Regions from separate parts of the Homo sapiens genome. Here region 1 is linked to region 2. Evidence: promoter capture Hi-C in human tissues and cell types (Jung and others, 2019). All regions are on one chromosome and are shown on one strand. Each heading gives the region's core, a stretch centred on a gene start or on the middle of the fragment in contact. The rest is flanking DNA. Distances are from core to core; before and after follow the strand shown. Region 1 overlaps WDR93 (WD repeat domain 93). Region 2 holds the start of MESP1 (mesoderm posterior bHLH transcription factor 1).

Region 1 (2,700 bases), core at 118-2,617, 42 kb after region 2:
AGAACAGTTATCATCCTGACTCCTTTATTACAAACTTCCCCATCAGCCATTGGTGGTTATTGCCTAGACCATTCTTTGTAATAGGCAACAAAAGTAGGATACCTCAGTTCTATCATTCCTTCTGCATTTATTAGAATTCTTCTATAAGGAAGATCTTTCCATCATCAACCATTTTGTTGCCTTGAAATTGGTTGCCCATATGAAAAAGTCAGAATAAAAGCTTGATTCTTTCCCTTATCAGTTTTCAGAATACTGAGTTTCTGAAACTTCCCTCACAACTTCCAAAGTTGTGACAATAAAGTATTTAAAATATATTATCATGAATTAATGGATTTTAAATATTTTTATGTGTTTTAATCCACCAACAGTACTTTTTTTGTAACATCCCTGATAATTTGAATATCATAGTTATGCTGGTCTCATAAAATGAGTTGCGGGACATTCCCAGTATTTTTTTTTTCTTAGGAGAGTTTATTTAAAGATAAAATTTAAATATAGGTAAAGGCACAGGTATTAAATGCATAACTTGATGAGTTTTGACAAACTTATACGTCCCTGTAACTAACACCCTGTCAAGGTATAGGACGTTACCATTATCCTAGAAAGTTACCGTATGCCTGTTTGAGCCAACTACACTTCCATATGCAACCAATGTTCTGCTTTCCATCGCTAACACAGATAAATTTCGCCTGTTCTTAAGTTTCATATAATTTCATAATTAGAACCTACTCTTTTGTGTCTGGCTTCTGTCATTCAACTTGATGTTTTTGAGTTTCATCTGCTGCGTTGTAATCATCAGTTGTTTATTATTTATTATTGCCGATTAGTGTTCCATTGACTTAGTCTACCACAAATTTTTATTTGTTCTCTGATTATGTTTTTTTGTTTTCGTTTTTGTTTTTGTTTTGAGACGGAGTCTCACTCTGTCGTCCAAGCTGGAGTGCAGTGGTGCGATCTCAGCTCACTGCAATCTCCGCCTCCTGGGTTCAAGCAATTCTCCTGCCTCAGCCTCCCAAGTAGCTGGGACTACAGGCGCGTGCCAGCACACCCGGCTAATTTTTTGTATTTTTAGTAGAGACGGGGTTTCACCGTGTTAGCCAGGATGGTCTTGTTCTACTGACCTCGTGATCCGCCCGCCTCAGCCTCCCACAGTACTGGGATTACAGGCAGGAGCCACTGTACCCGGCCTTGATTATTTTTTTTTTTATTACAAATACAGCTGCTATGAACATCTTGTACAAATCTTTTTGTGAACAAATGTTTTCATTTCTTTTGGGTAAATACCTAAAAATGGGCTTGATGTATCATAGGTTTAACTTTGTAAGAAACTACCTCACCTGTAATCTCAGCACTTTGGGAGGCCAAGGTGGGAAGACTGCTTGGGTCCAGGAGTTCAAGACCAGTCTGGGCAACATGGCGAAACACTGTCTCCTTTTGTAAATGTCAGTTTAAGTCTTTTGCCTATTTTTTATTGGGTTGTCTTTTTATTACTGATTTGGAGTTCTTTATATATTCTGGATACAAATACTTTGAAGGATATATAAATATATATAAAGTATATATATATAAAACAGGTATTTTCTCCCAGTCTTTGGCTTGTTTTTACATTTTCTTATTATATTTATTATTATTTAAGGCCTTTATTAGCAGTTTGCAGTTTGGCTTTTTAAAAACCAGATGCTGCACTGATAATGCAATTAGTTCTAGTTATCTGGTTAACAGGCAAAAAATAAATAAATAAATCACCCCCACCCTGCCCAGCCTCAGGATCCAAGGCATTCTCAGCTGGTGGATCCCTTGCTTTTGTCTCTGCCACAGTGGGGTTTAGGATTTTCTGGACATCTACATCTGTAACTGAAGTTGCAGTTGTTGACCTTGTGTCTCATCTTGATTTTCCTTTTCCTCTTCATTGCTGACCTCTCTGTCTTTGGTGAGAAGGGGCCCTGGAGAATTGTGGTGTAGGATTGTGTCACTGGTCCACCTTGTTCTCCTGCACCCTGGTTATCAGTACCTCCATCACTTCTCCCTGCACCGGACGGCTGCAATAGTGTGGGCACCTGGCCGTCACAGCCACAATAGTGGTGCACCACAATAATGTGGGTACCCACAGGGTCGCCACAGGCTAGAAGCCCATGCCTGGGCCAGCTGTTGAGCCTGGCCTTCAGGAACACTCTCTGACCTTTGGTCATTTCCCCACTCTCACTGTTCTGATAATTCGGCTGGTGAGTGAGTGGAGGACTGGCCCTACAATGCGGACAGCATTCATAATGGTTAGTCTGCTGCAGATCTACTTGCCTTGCATAGGAATGCAATTAGGGCCTGTAACATTTGCGACCTCCATACCCTTCAATAACCTCAAACTCCATCTACTACACTGGGAAAGCACTTCCTGGGGTTATTCTTTTATGACTGTCTGTGTCCAAATACACCTCCTTGATGTCCTTTCTGTGGATGAAAACATAGCCATTCCTGACATTGAATCATCTGTTTCCGAAATTTTCATTGCAATGACGCTCTTGTCCTAGCCACCCTAGCAACCACTTCTTATGGTGCAGATGTGGGCACTGCTGAGGACTGGCAGCTGCTGGGTCTCAGCCTCCTTGCTCAGGGTAGTGGTGATGGTGACTAGAGCCAGCTGCGACAACTGTAGCTCCTCCAGGGTGTGACTGTCACTAGGACGGGTGGAGGTGGGGCTGTTCA
Region 2 (2,700 bases), core at 177-2,676:
CCTCTTCCATTGACAAGCTGGGTTAAGTCAATAGGTTGAGTAGGATCAACACGACCCAAATCAGTAACATATTACAGTCTATTGATACTTAAAGGTTGATACTGGTGTCTGAAGCTAAGTCCTTCATTAAATCTGTATTTTGGGATTCCGATGTAAAATAGAGTCTGGCCATCCCCAAAGCCCAGCAGAGCCAGTTTCCTCTCTGCCTTTCTCTTTTATGGCCTCTGCCGCATTTTCTACCTCTTCTCCGACCTTTTGGTCGTCTCATGGGTTTCCTGGAGCCAGGATTCCGCTTTAAATTGGTCAGGCTCATGCGCAGCAGGGCCCAGAGCTGCCATAACCTGCGAAAAGAGTTTTATTTCTTCCTTTCTGACCTGTATGTCTTTTGTTTCCTAATTGCATAGCCTAGATCCTCCATCTGGTACAATGTTGAATAGGAGTGGTAAGAGAGACACCCTCGCTTTGTTCCTGCAATCGGGGGGTGGGGGGAAGATTTCAGTCTTTCACTACTCAGTATGAGGCTACCTGTAGGTTCTTTGTAGGAGCCTTTCATCAGGTTGATGAAATTCCTCTCTATTCTTAGTTTGCTGAGAATTTTCATCACGAAGGGTGTTGGATTTTGTCAAATGCCTTTGCTGCGTCATTTCCACTCACATTTCATTGGGAAAACCTGTTATACCTGTCCAATAGCGGCAGAACATCAGGTAAAGGCCAGTGGTGACAGCTGTGGCAACAGGCCAAGCTCCAGACCTTGCCAGGCTAGAGGTGGCCTGGGGTTGGAGCAGGCTTAACCCCCTCCCTCTGCTCAGAAGGTCCAGCATCCTGACCAGACTCGGCAGCTTATTGAATTTGCCGGGGTGCAAGCTTCCTTGCACTGTCCACATGTTCTTACCAGGGAAGGGTCTACCCAGGGCCATCCTGCCTCAAAGGAGAAGTGGTTTACTGTTTTCTCCACCTTTAGAGGGAATGAGGGTCCCTGCTCCTGGTCCTTACTCTACTCCACTGTCCAATTGGCGCATGCCCTGAGGCTCTCATTATACAAATTGGAAGCTAAGGTGCAAAAGAACTAAGAATTTGCATAAGGTCCCCAACAGGTGAAGGCAGGCCCCAAACCTAGGATCTAGATTTCGTTTTTCTGACCCCGCTTCCTTTAACCTGCAGGGCTGGCCCAACGCCCCGGGCTTCACCCAACACTGGGCGCAGGCGGGAAGGCCGAGAGGCTGGGTCGGGCGCCCAAGCGAGGGCCCAGGTGGGGCGAAACAGGCGCAGTCAAGGGGCTGGCACCTTGGCCCCCCGCCGTGGATTCAAAGGGTCAGGCTCCGCCCCCTCCAAGCCCCGAGCCCACTTTGATGTGCTGATGCGGCCTGGAAGGGGCCACTTCACACCTCGGGCTCGGCATAAAGCGGCCGCCGGCCGCCGGCCCCCAGACGCGCCGCCGCTGCCATGGCCCAGCCCCTGTGCCCGCCGCTCTCCGAGTCCTGGATGCTCTCTGCGGCCTGGGGCCCAACTCGGCGGCCGCCGCCCTCCGACAAGGACTGCGGCCGCTCCCTCGTCTCGTCCCCAGACTCATGGGGCAGCACCCCAGCCGACAGCCCCGTGGCGAGCCCCGCGCGGCCAGGCACCCTCCGGGACCCCCGCGCCCCCTCCGTAGGTAGGCGCGGCGCGCGCAGCAGCCGCCTGGGCAGCGGGCAGAGGCAGAGCGCCAGTGAGCGGGAGAAACTGCGCATGCGCACGCTGGCCCGCGCCCTGCACGAGCTGCGCCGCTTTCTACCGCCGTCCGTGGCGCCCGCGGGCCAGAGCCTGACCAAGATCGAGACGCTGCGCCTGGCTATCCGCTATATCGGCCACCTGTCGGCCGTGCTAGGCCTCAGCGAGGAGAGTCTCCAGCGCCGGTGCCGGCAGCGCGGTGACGCGGGGTCCCCTCGGGGCTGCCCGCTGTGCCCCGACGACTGCCCCGCGCAGATGCAGACACGGACGCAGGCTGAGGGGCAGGGGCAGGGGCGCGGGCTGGGCCTGGTATCCGCCGTCCGCGCCGGGGCGTCCTGGGGATCCCCGCCTGCCTGCCCCGGAGCCCGAGCTGCACCCGAGCCGCGCGACCCGCCTGCGCTGTTCGCCGAGGCGGCGTGCCCTGAAGGGCAGGCGATGGAGCCAAGCCCACCGTCCCCGGTTAGTGTCCCCTTCCCCGCGCCCCCTTCGTCCGTGCCCCCGCGCACAGCCCCACCGCCCGCCAAGGTGAGGACCAGGCACCCTGCTGCTCCCCGCCGGCAGCCTGGCCACCTGGCCACCATAGTATGCCCAGGGCTCCAAGAAGCGAAGGCAGGGAAAGGCCACGCAGAGGACTGGGTCTCCCCTCGCTAGGGGCCCCCTGAGAGTGGAGCCCACGAGCGCGGACACCCGCACAAGGCCACCAGTGCTTGAGGGCTGCGCTGTTCCGTCTCTCCCTACAGCTCCTTCCGGGCGACGTGCTGGCTCTGTTGGAGACCTGGATGCCCCTCTCGCCTCTGGAGTGGCTGCCTGAGGAGCCCAAGTGACAAGGGACAACTGACGCCGTCTCTGTGAGCACCGAGGCTTTTTGGCCTCAGCACCTTCGAAGTGGTTCCTTGGCAGACTGCCTTTCCTGGAAGAGGGCACGGGCGATCCCGACGGGGGCATTCCTGCGGGTGAGAGCCGTCCCCACCGCGGCGGCCCTTCTCAGCCCCT

What was found. Contacts are between HindIII fragments. The study calls those that stand out against the background at their distance.
Region 1: a fragment that was not itself captured here is called in contact with the fragment with the promoter of MESP1 in region 2 in 2 of the 25 tissues and cell types used here (ovary and small bowel).

Annotation. Positions count from the first base shown.
Region 1 is chr15:89,708,367-89,711,066 of GRCh38, reverse strand. The region is part of intron 4 of WDR93 (WD repeat domain 93); the gene reads right to left. Among named protein-coding and RNA genes, the nearest start is that of WDR93, 19 kb to the right of the region's middle. The HindIII fragment of the contact is 4,089 bases long and covers 1-2,700 here.
Region 2 is chr15:89,749,975-89,752,674 of GRCh38, reverse strand. It overlaps MESP1 (mesoderm posterior bHLH transcription factor 1), which reads left to right and starts at 1,426. Exons shown (of 2, transcript NM_018670.4): 1 at 1,426-2,166; 2 at 2,448-2,700. The coding sequence starts at 1,444. The coding sequence ends at 2,531. It also overlaps the pseudogene MRPL15P1. RefSeq lists silencers at 1,376-1,805, 1,866-2,155. The HindIII fragment of the contact is 13,666 bases long and covers 1-2,700 here.